3 separate regions of the Homo sapiens genome follow, and all the other regions are linked to region 3. Evidence: promoter capture Hi-C in 16 types of primary human blood cells and fetal thymus (Javierre and others, 2016). All regions are on one chromosome and are shown on one strand. Each heading gives the region's core, a stretch centred on a gene start or on the middle of the fragment in contact. The rest is flanking DNA. Distances are from core to core; before and after follow the strand shown.

Region 1 (4,517 bases), core at 146-2,645, 260 kb after region 3:
TAAAAGTTCAACATGAAACTTTACTCTGTACACTCATCAGGTCAGCAAAAATTAGAAAGTCAGCTAATGCCAAGTGTTAGCTGGAGTAGGGGGGGAAGAGGAACCCTTGTTCTCTGCAAGGGAGTATGAGAAGGTGCAGCCACTCCGGAGGCTGTCTGATGGTGCTGGTTCAAGTCGACTGCGTAAGTCTTCTGCCCACAGCAATGCCACTCCTCGGTATGCGGCGCAGAGACACTTTTTGTCCAAAAGGGGCATGTGGGGAGGTGCTCATTCAGCATTGTTTCTGGCAGGGGCGTTGGCCACTCAGGCACCCATCCCTGGGGAAGACAGAAGTAAATGTGGTGGGTGTACACCTTGGAGAAGCATCTATCAGTCAGAAGCAAGGAAGGGGATGTCCACACAGATTTAGGTAGCTTACGTTAGACACTATGTTCAAATTCAAGGACGCACATCAGATACACAGAAAGGCTGCCTGTGGGGGAATTCGGACTGCAAGTGGAGAATGGGGACTGTAGTGGATTGAAGATGGTCCCAAATTCCTTGTCACTCCCTGCATGGAGAGGTGAGGTGGGGTGCCCTGGGCAGGCTTGTGACTACTTGACCAACAGAATACAGCAGAAGTGGTGCTTGTCAGTTTCCAGGCCTGGGCTTTTTAGAGGGTGGCAGTTCACTTCACCTCTCTTAGGACACTCTCTGGGAGCTTGAAGCTGCCATGTAATCAACTGCCCTAATACCACCAGGTTGCTGAAACCATGTTCAGGAGCTCTGTTTGTGGTCCTAGCTGAGCCCAGCCTTGCAGCCAGCCCCCACCAGCCAATGTCACCAGACATGTAAGTGAAGCCATCCTGGGATCTCTAGACCAGCCCAGCACACCTACAGGCTGATTACCATGGAGTGACCTCCGTTGGCACCACATTCATCAAGAGAATCAACCAGCTGAGTCCTGCAAATCCAAATCCACACAACTGTAATATGATAAAGTATCTAACTTTGGGGGTATATATTAGCCTGTTTTCATGCTGCTGATAAAGGCATACCTGAGACTGGGAAGAAAAAGAGGTTTAATGGACTTATAGTCCACATGGCTGGGGAGGTCACACAATCATGGTGGAAGGTGGGGAGGAGCAAGTCACATCTTACAAGGATGACAGCAGGCAAAGAGAGAGCTTGTGCAGGGGAACTCCTCTTTATAAAACCATCAGATCTCATGAGACTTACTCACTATCATGAGAACAGCACAAGAAAGACCCACCCCCATGATTCAATTCACTCCCACTGGGTCCCTCCCATGACATGTGGGAATTGTGGGAATTACAATTCAAGATGAGAGTTGGGTGGGGACACAGCCAAACCATATCATTCTGCCCCTGGACCTTCCCAAATCTCATGTCCTCACATTTCAAAACCAATCATGCCATCCCAACAGGCCCCCAAAGTCTTAACTCATTTCAGCATTAACTCAAAAGTCCACAGTCCAAAGTCTCATCTGAGAAAAGGCAAGTCCCTTCCACCTATAAGCCTGTAAAATAAAAAAAAAAAATTAGTTACTTCCTAGCTACAATGGGGGTACAGGCATTGAGTAAATACAGCCATTTCAAATGGGAGAAATTGGCCAAAACAAAGGGGCTACAGACTCCATGCAAGTCTGAAATCCAGTGGGGCAGTCAAATCCTACAGTTCCAAAATGATCTCCTTTGACTTCATGTCTCACATCCAGGTCATGCTGATGCAAGAGGTGGGTTCCCATGGTCTTGGGCAGCTTTGCTTCTGTGGCTTTGCAGGGTATAGCCTCCCTCCTGGCTGCTTTCATGGGCTGTTGAGTGCCTGCAGCCTTTCCAGGAGTATGGTGCAAGGTGTTGGTAGATCTACCATTCTGGGGTCTGGAGGACAATGGCCCTCTTCTCACAACTCCATTAGGCAGAGCCCCAGTAGGGACTCTGTGTGGGGGCTCTGACCCCACATTTCCCTTCTGCACTGCTGTAGCAGAGGTGCTCCATAAGAGCCCCGCCCCTTCAGCAAACTTCTACCTGGACATCCATGCATTTCCATGCATCCCCTGAAATCTAGGCAGAGGTTCCCAAACCTCAATTCTTGACTTCTGTGCACCTACAGGCACAACACCACATAGAAGCTGCCAAGGCTTGGGGCTTCCACCCTCTGAAGCAACAGGCTGAGCTGTACCTTGGCCCTTTTAGTCATGGCTGGAGCAGCTGGGACACAGGGCATCAAGTCCCTAGACTGCACACAGCAGAGGGACCCTGGACCTGGCCCACAAAACCATTTTTTCCTCTTAAACCTCTGGGCCTGTGATGAGAAGGGCTGCCACAAAGGTCTCTGACATGACCTAGAAATATTTTCCTCATTGTCTTGGCGATTAACATTCGGGTCCTCATTCGTTACTTATGCAAATAAATTTCTGCAGCCAACTTTAATTTCTCCTCAAAAAATGGGATTTTATTTTATATTGCATTGTCAGGCTGTAAATTTTCCAAACTTTTATGCTCTGTTTCCCTTTTAAAACTGAATGCCTTTAACAGCACCCAAGTCACCTCTTGAATGCTTTGCTGCTTAGAAGTTTCTTCTGCCAGATACCCTAAATCATCTCTCTCAAGTTCAAAGTTCCACAAATCTCTAGGGTAGGGGCAAAATGCCACCAGTCTCTTTGCTAAAACATAACAAGAATCACCTTTGCTCCAGTTCCCAATAAGTTCCTGATCTCCATCTGAGACCACCTCAGCCTGGATTTATTGTCCATATCATTATTAGCATTTTGGTCGAAGCCATTCAACAAGTCTCTAGGAAGTTCCAAACTTTCCCATATTTTAGTTTCTTCTTCTGAGCCCTCCAAACTGTTCCAACCTCTGCCTGTTACCCAGTTCTAAAGTTGCTTCCACATTTTCAGGTACCTTTTCAGCAGTGTCCCACTTTACTAGTACCAATTTACTATCTTAGTCCATTTTCACACTGAGATAAAGAATATCTGAGACTGGGCAATTTACAAAAGAAAGAGGTTTAATGGGCTTACAGTTCTACATGGCTGGGGAGGCCTCACGATCATGGTGGAAGGCATGGAGGAGCAACTCACATCTTACGTGGATGGTGGCAGGCAAAGAGAGAGAGCTTGTGCAGGGGAACTCCTCTTTATAAAACCATTAGACCTCATGAGACTTATTCACCATCATGAGAACAGCACAAGAAAGACCTACTTCATGAACTCGGAGTTTCTGTAGCCTTCTTAATGATAATATGATAACATGATGCTATTATAATATATATTTAAATATTTAGTGTTTTTTTTCCAGGGTGAAATCTACTTATATATTATCCTTTTTCCAAAGCAGCATTTTGAAGAATAATGGTTGCTATCAACATTTTTGTAGATAATTAAATTACTAGAACATCAGGAATTTTTTCCCTAAAATTTCTTCACAGAAAAAAATTATTGTCAAAATTCGATACCTCTGAATTAGTTGAGAGAAAAAAGACTATATGAATAGAGCATAAGTTCTATTTTTTAAGTGTGTTAATTTAGATCCTATCTTGTTCCAAAAATAATTTGGGATGGCTTACACAAATGTGTACCACATGAAGAAAAAGAAAATTGTCTTGATACAGAAATCAAGACAAAAGAAAATTAATAGGAAAGAAAAGGAAATAAAAGGCATCCACATCAGAATAGAAGTAAGCTATCCATACTTGCAGATTAAAAAAAACCTAAGGAATGCACTAGAAAACTATTAGAACTAATAAATGAGCTCAGCAAGGTTGCAGGATACAAGATTAATATACAAAAATTCATTGTATTTTGATACAACAGTAATGCGTAAAAGAAAAACAAAATTTTAAAAACCTCAATTTACAATAATAGCATCAAAAACAATAAAACACCAAGAAAATACTTAACAAAATAAGTGCAAAACTTATACTCTGAAAGCTATAAAACATTGTTGATTGAAATTAAACAAGACCTAAAAAAATGGAAAGACATCTCATGTTCATGGATTGGAAGACTTAATATTGTTAAGATGGTACCATGGATTAAACTGTGATCTCCAAAATTTTGTTGAAGTTAGTCTTAACCCCTAGTATACCTATGAAGGTGATCTTATTGGATATAGGATCTTTGCAGCTGATCAAGTGAAGACCAGATCATTAAAGTGGGCTCTAATCCAGTATAACTGGTGAAAGGGGAAACTTAGACACACAGACAGACATGCACACAGGGAGAACACTATGCAAAGATGAAGGCAGAGATTGGGTTGATACATCTAAAAGCCAAGGAACACCAAATACTGCCAGTAAAGCATCAGAAGATAAAGGAGAACGGCATGGAACAGATTCTCCCTCACATTGCTCAATTGTACCAACACCTTGACCTGGCAATTCTAGGCTCCAGAACTTTAAATAAGAATAATATTTTAAATAATAATATTTTTAAAAGAATAATATTTTGTTGTTTAAGTCAACCAGTTTGTGGTACTTCATTATGGCTACCCTTGCAAACTAATACAGATAGT
Region 2 (4,569 bases), core at 524-3,023, 350 kb before region 3:
GTTGCCGAGGCTGCTCTGGAACTCCTGGCCTCAAGTGATCCTCCTGCTTTAGCCTCCCAAAGCACTGGGATTATAGGCGCGAGTCACTGCATCTGGCCAACATATTTATTTTAAATTCATACAAAAAGAGCAACAAGAAACCCATAACATGTTAACATAACATTTATATGAGAAATAGCTGTTTTTTCCAAAACTAACAAAACATGTGGTTGGAAGAGTAACATTGTGTTACATTTTGGGAGAACGCCTTGACCTCTGGTTTAATAGAAGACAAATGCATTCTCATAATACTACTGCATTCAATCTGATGTGATATGTTGTTTTAGATGAACTACAGGAAGAAAATTCAGCCTTACAGAGATTCACAGTTAGAAAAGACCTGCTGGGGTGGCCAGGCATGGTGGCTCATGCCTGTAATCCCAGCACTTTGGGAAGCCAAGGTGGGTGGATCACGAGGTTAGGAGTTTGAGACCAGCCTGGCCAAGATGGTAAAACCCCACCTCCACTACAAATACAAAAATTAGCTGGGAGCAGTGGCAGTCGCCTGTAATCCCAGTTACATGGGAGGCTGAGGCAGGAGAATTGCTTGAACCCAGGAAATGGAGGTTGCAATGAGCCGAGATCACGCCACTGCACTCTAGCCTGGGTGACAGAGTAAGACTCCATCTGAAAGAAAGAAAGAAAGAAAGAAAGAAAGAAAGAAAGAAAGAAAGAAAGAAAGAAAGAAAGAAAGAAAGAAAGGAAAGAAAGGAAAGAAAGGAAAGAAAAGAAAGAAAAGAAAGAAAAGAAAGAAAAGAAAGAAAAGAAAGAAAAGAAAGAAAAGAAAGAAAGAAAGAAAAAGACCTGCTTGGGGAGTCTCAGGGACTCCCCAAGGGTCCTTGGACCACACTGTCCAGAGTCTGATTTGTTTCCTGAAGACTTTAGCACCTTGAGGGCAGACAGTATCTCTTCATTTGATGGGTCACTGAATGGGGACAGTTTTCATTTGGTGTGTGATAAAATGCTTTTGACAGACTGGCTGATAGAGGGAGCTATAGGCTAATGCTAGCCCACATATATAATACTGAGATACTAACTTTTCTCCTTTCACAGATGAAACCAACAGATTTAGACAGAATTGGTGTCTAAAGAGTTACATCCAGCCGGGCGCGGTGGCTCACGCCTGTAATCCCAGCACTTTGGGAGGCCGAGGCGGGCGGATCACAAGGTCAGGAAATCGAGACCATCCTGGCTAACACGGTGAAACCCCGTCTCTACTAAAAATACAAAAAATTAGCCGGGCGTGGTGGTGGCTGCCTGTAGTCCCAGCTACTCGGGAGGCTGAGGCAGGAGAATGGCATGAACCCGGGAGGCAGAGGTTGCAGTGAGCCGAGATCACGCCACTGCACTCCAGCCTGGGAGACAGAGCGAGACTCCATCTCAAAAAACAACAACAACAACAACAGAGTTACATCCCTGGCCGGGTGCGGTGGCTGACCCCTGTAATCCCAGCACTTTGGGAAGCCGAGGCAGGTGGATCACCTGAGGTCAGGAGTTCGAGACCAGCCTGGCCAACATGGCAAAACCCCATCTCTACTAAAAAATAAAAATAAAAATAAAAATTAGCTGGGCATGTAGCACGTGCCTGTAATCCCAGCTACTCAGAAGGCTGAGGCAGAAGAATCACTTGAACTCAGGAGGCGGAGGTTGCAGTGAGCTGGGATCGTGCCATTGCACTCCAGCTTGGGCAACAAGAGCAAAACTCTGTCTCAAAAAAAAAGGAAAAAAAAAAAAAAGAGTTACATCCTTGTACTTCCAGACATTGCTTCTCAAAGAGGCTGCCCAGAAGATAAAGCAAAGGTTAGACACAAAAAGGGATCAATTTAAGACAAAAATTTCCACTTGTTTAAGAAATGGGAAAGAATTCACAATAGCCAAAAAGTGCAAGCAACCCAAATGTCCATCGATGGATGAATGGATAAACAAAACGTACTGTATACACACATGGAATATTATTCAGCCTTTAAAAGGAAGGGGACATTCTGACACTTGCACAACATGGATGAGTCTTGAGGATATTATGTTAAGTGAATAAGCCAGCCACAAAAGGACAAATGCCGTATGATTCCTCTTGAAGGAATCTAGAGTAGTCAAACTCACAGAGACAGAAAGTAGAATGGTGCTTGCCATGGGCTAGGGGGTGGAATATGGGAGGTGGTTGTTTTTTTGTTTGTTTGTTTTTTGAGACAGAGTCTTGCTTTATCACCAGGCTGGAGTGCAGTGGCGTGATCACAGCTTACTGCAGCCTTTACCTCCTGGGCTCAAGCAATCCTCCCACCTCACCCTCCGCAGCAGCTGGAACTACAGGCATGCACCATCATGCCCAGCTAATTTTTTGTTTAAATTTTTTGTAGAGATGGGGGTCTCACTACTGCACCTGGCCAGAAGTGGTTGTTGAAGGGATATGAAAAAGTTCTGGGCTGGGTGCAGTGGCTCACGCCTGTAATCCCAGCACTTTGGGATGCCAAGGCGGGCAAATCTCCTGAGGTCAGGAGTTTGAGACCAGCCTGGGCAACATGGTAAAACCCCGTCTCCAACTAAAAATACAAAAATTAGCTGGGTGTGGTGGTGCATGCTTGTAGTCCCAGCTACTTGGGAGGCTGAGGCAGGAGAATCGTTTGAACCCAGGAGGCGAAGGTTGCAGTGAGCCAAGACCACACCAACCTGGATGACAGCGAGACCCTGTCTCTAAATAAATTAATAAAAATAAATTAAAAGGTTAAGATAGTAACTTTTATGTTACCTGTATTTTACCATTTTTAAAAGGAAAGGGCCTGACTGCGGCAGCTCATACCTGTAATCCTAGCATTTTGGGAGGCCAAGGCAGGAGGATTCCTTGAGGCCGGAGTTCGAGACCAGCCTGGGCAACATGGTGAAACCCCATCTCTACACACACATACACACACACACACACACACACATACACAAGCACACACACGCACACACACAATTAGGCCAGCATAGTGGCATGCGCCTGTAGTCCTAGCTACTATGGAGGCCGAGGTGGGAAGATCCCTTGAGCCCAGGAGTTCAAGGCAGTAGTAAGCTATGATTGTACCACCATATGCCAGCCTGGGTGACAGAGCACGACTCTGCCTCAAAAAAAAGAAAGAAAGGGGCTGGGCATGGTGGCTCACTCCTATTATCCCAGCACTTTGGGAGGCCGAGGTGGGCGGATCACTTGAGGTCAGGAGTTTGAGACCAGCCTGGCCAACATGGTGAAACCCCATCTCTCCTAAAAATACAAAAAAAAAAAAATAGCCTGGTGTGGTGGAGGGCGCTGGTAAATCCCAGCTACTCAGGAGGCTGCAGCAGGAGAATCGCTTGAACCAGGGAGGTGGAGGTTGCAGCGAGCCATTGTCATGCTACTGCACTCCAGCCTGGGCAACAGAGTGAGATTCCATCAAAAAAAGAAAAAAGAAAGAAAGAAAGAGAGAGGAAGGAAGGAAGGAAGGAAGGAAGGAAGGAAGGAAGGAAGGAAGGAGAAAGTAGAAATGAACTTCTTTCTCTAATTTTGTTCTGACCTCATCCCTTCTTAGCTACTCAATTCAGTTGCACAGTTATTTATTGAGCACATTCTATGTATAAAGTCCTCCCGGAAACAAAGATCAGTGAAACAGTGCCTATTCTCAAGGAGTTGGCCCTCTAGTAGAGGGTTGGTCAAGATACATATACAACAAGGCCAAAGAGATGCGCTAACAGGATGAAATGGGTCTTGGAGAAGGCGGTGTTTGGGCTAGAACTTAAGGACCATAGGATTTCTGCTGGGGCTAAGTTTTGGGGAAGCATTATGAGCACAAAGGAGACAAACTAGTTTTCTACATTGCTGATCAGGTTAAAGGCTTAGAATCATGTCCGAAAAGTTGGTACAGATGTTGAAGATTATTGGTCCAGTTTCCCGTTTAATACAGGAATCCATTCTACTTGATGAAAGAAATCAGGAGTTAATGCAATGTGGCTACTGCAAGGAAACCATGGTCCCTGGTAAAGCACATTGCATTTAAAGACCTGCTTTCTATCTTGCTTTCACCTGTAAGCTTTATCATCAAGCTCCTCAACCTCTCTGAGAACTGGCTTCCTTGTCTATTCCAAGCTTGGCGCATACTATAACTAACATATGTGAAAATTCTCAGCAAGCGTTCTAAGCCCTGTTTATCAGCTCAGCACGGTGGCTTATGCCAGTAATCCCGGCACTTTGGGAGGCTGAGGTGGAGGATCCCTTCAGGCCAGGAGTTTAAGACCCACCGGGGCAACATAGCGAGGCTCTGTCTCTACAAAACATTTTAAAAATTAGCTGGTGTGGTGGTGCACACCTGTAGTCCCAGCTCCTCAGGAGGCTGAGGCAGAAGGATGGCTTGAGCCCGGGAGTTCCAGGCAGCAGTGAGCTATGGAGCACCACTGCACTCCAGCCTGGGTGACAGAGCAAGGCCCTGTCTCAAAAAACAAACAAACAAACAAAACTGTTTTACCTTTCTTTTTCTTTCTTTCTTTTTTTTTTTTTTTTTGAGGCAGAGTTTCACTCTGTCGCCA
Region 3 (4,804 bases), core at 1,196-3,695:
ACCCCACATCGCCAGCGTTGACCAAACAGTGCTGGATCTCCGCTAAAAGGAAAATCACATACAAATATATACAAAACTCTAACCCATGCTGGGCAATGCAGAGAGGTCATTTGAAATAAAAGTTAACAACTAAAGGAAAATTTAAGGAGGAAAAAAGACTTAGTAATGACTATTTCAGGACCTAAAAAGCCTGGGAAACAAAATTTCGTCCTTTAATCTACTCATGAAAAATATCTCTATTTGTAAATATTTGTAGAAAAGAGCCGAAAAATTACAAAAATTACAACCAGAAGGCTGGTCTGAGCATTCCTCCTTTTCATCCTTTCCATTTTATTAAAGTATTTGTGGGAATACTTAGTTTGAGAGCAAAATATATTTCCGCTTTTTAAACCCACAGACAAAAATAAAATTTTGAGTCGAAGACTGTACTTCATCAATGAAGTACCCTTCTCTACTTGATCTGTAGAAGTTGCTGCTATTAAATCACAGCCATTTGCTTCCTGACCCCCAAATGACAGCATCTAAAAAGCAGTTTCAATTCAGCTTTATGATTCAACACCTAAAAATCAAAACAAAATTCCTATTAAGGCAGTGCCTCCCAACCCTTCGCATTAAAATACCAGCTAGGGAAGCTGCGGTTGGCGAGCAGGCTTAGGAGTGGAGTCAGCTGGGGGCGAGCCTTCAGAAACGCCACTATCAGAGGTTGCAGGCTCCTTTTAATTAGGGATCCGGGTGAGGTATCACCCAATCCCCTAGAATTCCCGCAGCCCGGGAGGAAGCTTGCAGCCCTTCACCGAATGTGGCCCCCAGTCCTCTCTCGGAAGGGGCAGACGGAGGGAGTTAACTGTCAGGCTGCAGCGTGCAAAGCCTCTTCCCTCCCTTTCCACTACCCAAGTCTCTGATTTAAATCAACCACAAAATTACATCAGAAAAGTATATTTTGGAAGAAGGGCGGGGTCGGAGCAGATAACCCGCATCAGATTAAATCTAGCCAGAGAATGAGGGGCGTGTATTGTTGAGGGTCACCGACCACCGAGAATCAGGTTCAGTTCTCAGAGGAAGCGCCAGAGGAGGGGGAGGGTGGGCGAGGGTCTCGGGGTGGTGGGGGTGCCGGCCCCAGCATGTGGAGGCGACAGGATCCGTAAGACCCCACGCGCCGCCGGGGCAGGACCGCACAGGGCCGCCATTCACTCACTTGGGGCGTCCCTAATGGGCACTCGTGCATTCCAGCTCGTGCGGTGAGCGCACGCACGCCGCCGCTGCCGCGTTCACACGGCCCCCCAAAGTCGGGGGAGGGGTCGTGGAGCGAAGGAGCTGTAGGCAGATTTTCTTTCTCTTTCCGAGCTGGGAAAAGGGCCAGCCCCGTGCCCTGCACGCCTGGCTCTGCTTTGCAGCTTGCCGGTGAGCCAAGAGCCGGTAGAGCAGAGGAGGCGCACGGTTCGGGTCGTGTCACCATTTCTTGGCTTGCTGACCTGGCCAGGAGCTGGGGATGGCGGCAGCACCGCGGAGGTACGCTTTGCGCTGCCCTCACGCTCCCTTCCGAAAGCAGTGCCCCCAGGGGGAAAGTTCGCAATGCCATTTGTCTCGCCGGCAAAGTTCTGGGATGTCGGGCATCTTTTGAGGAGGGGGAAGACGCGGCACCCTTACTGAGGCCGGCAGGCCAGGAAGAGAAGTTCTCCGGGCGCAGGGCGCAGCCCAGCTCCGGGGACCCTCTGGGCCTCCCGCGTGCCGGCCGGGATGAAGCGCGCTTTGCACCGGACCCGGGATTCGGGGGCGGGGGCTGGCGCTGGCAGCGTCAGACGCTGCTTCATTTCCCCTCGACCCTGGGGAGGACAGCAACAAGTCCTGCCCCAGCCATTTCATCACCCTGCTAGCACGTGCAGATTCCGGGCCCTCGGAGCCCGGCGCGGACCTCGCCTTGCCTCGCGCTTCCCTTTGCACGTCCCGTGCCATCCCAAGAGTTTGCGTGGCCCTGGGTGGGCGCCTGGCTCCCGGCGAAACGCCTGGGGCGCGCCGCGTGGGTGCACGGTGTCCTCTCCCAGTAGCTCCCGGCTGCGGGGGCACATGCACTTACCTGTATTCTGCAGGGACAGGCGGCCTTTCTGCTGGGAGCTCCTGTCTTGGGGACCCTCGGGTGGGTTGGTGGCGTCGGTCCCCCGCGCCGGGTCAAAGGTGGCCAACACCAAAGCCAGGGTCATGAACTGGCCCAGCCGCTCGGCACACATGGTTCTTGGTATTAACCTCCCGTCGGGAGACCTGGATCCTTTGTGCTCCCCTCTTCCTCCTCCTCCTCTTCCTCCTTCGCCGCTTCCCCTCCTCCTCCCACTCTTCCTTTTTGCTCGCCTTTTCCCTCCTCCTCGCGGCCGCGGCTCGGATAGAGGTTACCCAGCGCCCTCCCGTAGCTCTCCGGAGAGCATGTGACCAGGCCGTTAGCAGCGCCGCGAGTGCCCGGCAATGGCAGGGATGGTGCCTCAAATATCCCTGGAAGCTCTGGTGTCACTTGAATGAAGGAGTCGAGCAGGTGTTGTCCCGGCGGCTGGACCAATCCGAGACCCCGGCCCTTTTGACAACACGGCCGGGAGGCGGGGCCTGCGCTCAACTACTACAGGAGGAAGCCGAGCGCCGCTGGGAGCGCCGGACAAAGTTGCCGACCTGGCGGCGGCCACGCGTTTGCGTGCGTGTGTATGAGTGTGTGTGAGCGCGGCCGGAGATGCGTGCGCGTGTGCGGGTGCTCCAGGGCAATGGTCGAAAGGACTGTACAATATAAGAGCGAATCCAAGCTCCAGTTGCTGTTAAAGGGGGACGGTGTGCTCTGGGACAGTGTCCCTGGGGCCCCTGGCTCGCGTCACACCCACATCGGGTTGGGAAAGTTTCCTCTTTCCGCCGTTTGGAATTCAGTGAGATTCCCAGCCCAGAGGACTTGATAAATTGAAGCAGTTTCCTAGGCACAATGATGCTGTGGGCCAACTGAGCACACATGGGAATTCCTGGCCTTGTGACACTTTGCATTAAAAAGAACCCCACGATTGAAGATAGGAGCAGAAGCACTAGATACAGTATTTGGTCTGAGCAACTGCCCTATCTTCCCGCTTTGGTGGGCCGTGCAACACCTGGAGTGTCGTTTCTCGTCTTTCCCCTAATCCAGACGCATTCCAGGCTGGGCTGCAGGGATCCAGGTGACAGTCAGGACTTGCATCATTTCCAGGAGGGTGGCAGGGAGGCCCAAGGCAGCCCTGAGTCAGCCCGCCGCGGAGCATCGCGTGCCCGGAGGCCAGAGCTTGAAAGGCAACTTTACGCGTCTCCAAACACACTCCTGCATTTTCTCAAAGCGCTGCTCGCCACCCCGCTCCGGGTTCCCTTTTACTCTCCAGTCATCCGATGGAAGTGGTGAGAACAAAAACAAAGACAAAAAAGCTAAATCCGGGGAAGTTATCTCCATCTCCTCCCTTTTCTTGTTCGGCCCCCTCCCCAAGAACCGCCGGGTCGGGATAGCCCCCGGCTACTTTCTCACCCGGCCCGTGGAGGGAAGGAGAAAGTTGGGCGCCGCTTGGAGCGCCTCTTCCCCTGCTGTGTGTGTACGTGTGCACGCTCACGTCTCCCCCGCGCCGGGGCCGGGGACAGGAACTGCTCTCGGTCCCGTCACCCCACGGCGCAGCTCGGGGGGCTCGCAGGGCTGGGGGAGGGCGGGGACACGAGCGCCGCGCCCAAGCGCCCCAGGGCACGCACCCGGCGTTGGCGCGCACTCGCCCCTCCCCCCGTCCCCACCCTCCTCCTGGAGAACAGGTGAGCCCCGGTACCAGCTCTCGATCCCCCACCCCCGCCCCGCGCCCCGCCCGCGCCCTCTGCGGTAATGCGCCTGGGAAGTTTCATCACCCACTGCCCAGGCGACGCGGCCCTGGGTCTCCGCGGCGGGGCGCACTGCCCGCCTGGTTGGGGCCGCCATGTGACACGGCTGGGGGAGGGGGCGAGGAGACACGCGGGCAGGTCATCTTTTGGCCGGCGCTTGACTTCCAAAGCTTTCCTTTCCCGTGTCCCGGCTGCACGCGGGAGTGGGGAAGGCGGAGGCGGGGGGCCAGGATGGCCACGGCTGGCCGCAGCTATCCGGCGTGTCGAGCTCTCCTGAGTCGGAAGGAAGGAGAGGAGGGGGTGGGGAGGGCGTCTTCAGAGTGGGCTTCCCCTGCGCTGGAGCGCCAGGGAGCATCCATAAATTGTCACTTTGAAGGTCCGAACCTGCGGCGGTAGGGACCATGCCCACTATTCTAATAGCAATTACTCCGCGCAGCCTTGGATCTTTTGTGCAAGGACGTGCGGGTACAAATACATTAAAACGGCCAGTTCACATTGCCCACCCTGCTTGTGTTTGCATAGTTAACTTAGCTTCCTAGTTTATGGAAAACTACCTCCTGTAGATCCTTAAAAACAAAGCAAACAAACGACACAGCGGCATTCTGGCCTCTCCTAACTAACTCTTTAAGGCTCTGAATTTCCTGAGAACAAGTAGCCATTTGGTCCCACTCCTGCTTATGGGTACAGCTGGGTAGACTTTCTTTCTATGTGGCCTCTTTTGTAGGAGAGAACATGAGCAATATTGACATTAAGAAGGCATCTGGTCACCTGTTTTTTTTTGAGAAGCAGAAATAGGAGAGAGCTCCATGGGGCAGGAGCAAGCCCTCTTTTGCCAGATGCAGACACTTAGTGTGCTGGGCAGAGGCCTCCCAGGATACCTGGAGCGATGGCCAGGGGGATGGAGCTCTCCCTGCTCCTGCTTTGCCCAGCCTTTGGCTAGGCCTACCTTTTGCTACCA

What was found. Contacts are between HindIII fragments. The CHiCAGO score rates a contact against its expected background, and 5 or more counts as called.
Region 1: a contact is called between a fragment that was not itself captured here and the fragment with the promoter of STC2 in region 3, in 1 of 17 cell types (endothelial precursors). The highest score is 7.9, in endothelial precursors.
Region 2: a contact is called between a fragment that was not itself captured here and the fragment with the promoter of STC2 in region 3, in 1 of 17 cell types (endothelial precursors). The highest score is 5.6, in endothelial precursors.

Annotation. Positions count from the first base shown.
Region 1 is chr5:173,584,070-173,588,586 of GRCh38, forward strand. It overlaps LINC02995 (long intergenic non-protein coding RNA 2995), which reads left to right. Exons shown (of 4, transcript NR_027108.2): 4 at 41-999. Among named protein-coding and RNA genes, the nearest start is that of LINC02995, 6.7 kb to the left of the region's middle. The HindIII fragment of the contact is 7,137 bases long and covers 1-4,517 here.
Region 2 is chr5:172,977,909-172,982,477 of GRCh38, forward strand. No RefSeq gene overlaps it. Among named protein-coding and RNA genes, the nearest start is that of ATP6V0E1, 3.6 kb to the right of the region's middle. The HindIII fragment of the contact is 4,602 bases long and covers 1-4,074 here.
Region 3 is chr5:173,325,969-173,330,772 of GRCh38, forward strand. STC2 (stanniocalcin 2) reads right to left here and starts at 2,446. Exons shown (of 4, transcript NM_003714.3): 1 at 2,075-2,446; 2 at 1-42. The coding sequence starts at 2,225. LOC124901137 (a long non-coding RNA gene) reads left to right here and starts at 2,631. Exons shown (of 2, transcript XR_007059056.1): 1 at 2,631-3,783. RefSeq lists a silencer at 3,640-3,859. The HindIII fragment of the contact is 3,237 bases long and covers 778-4,014 here.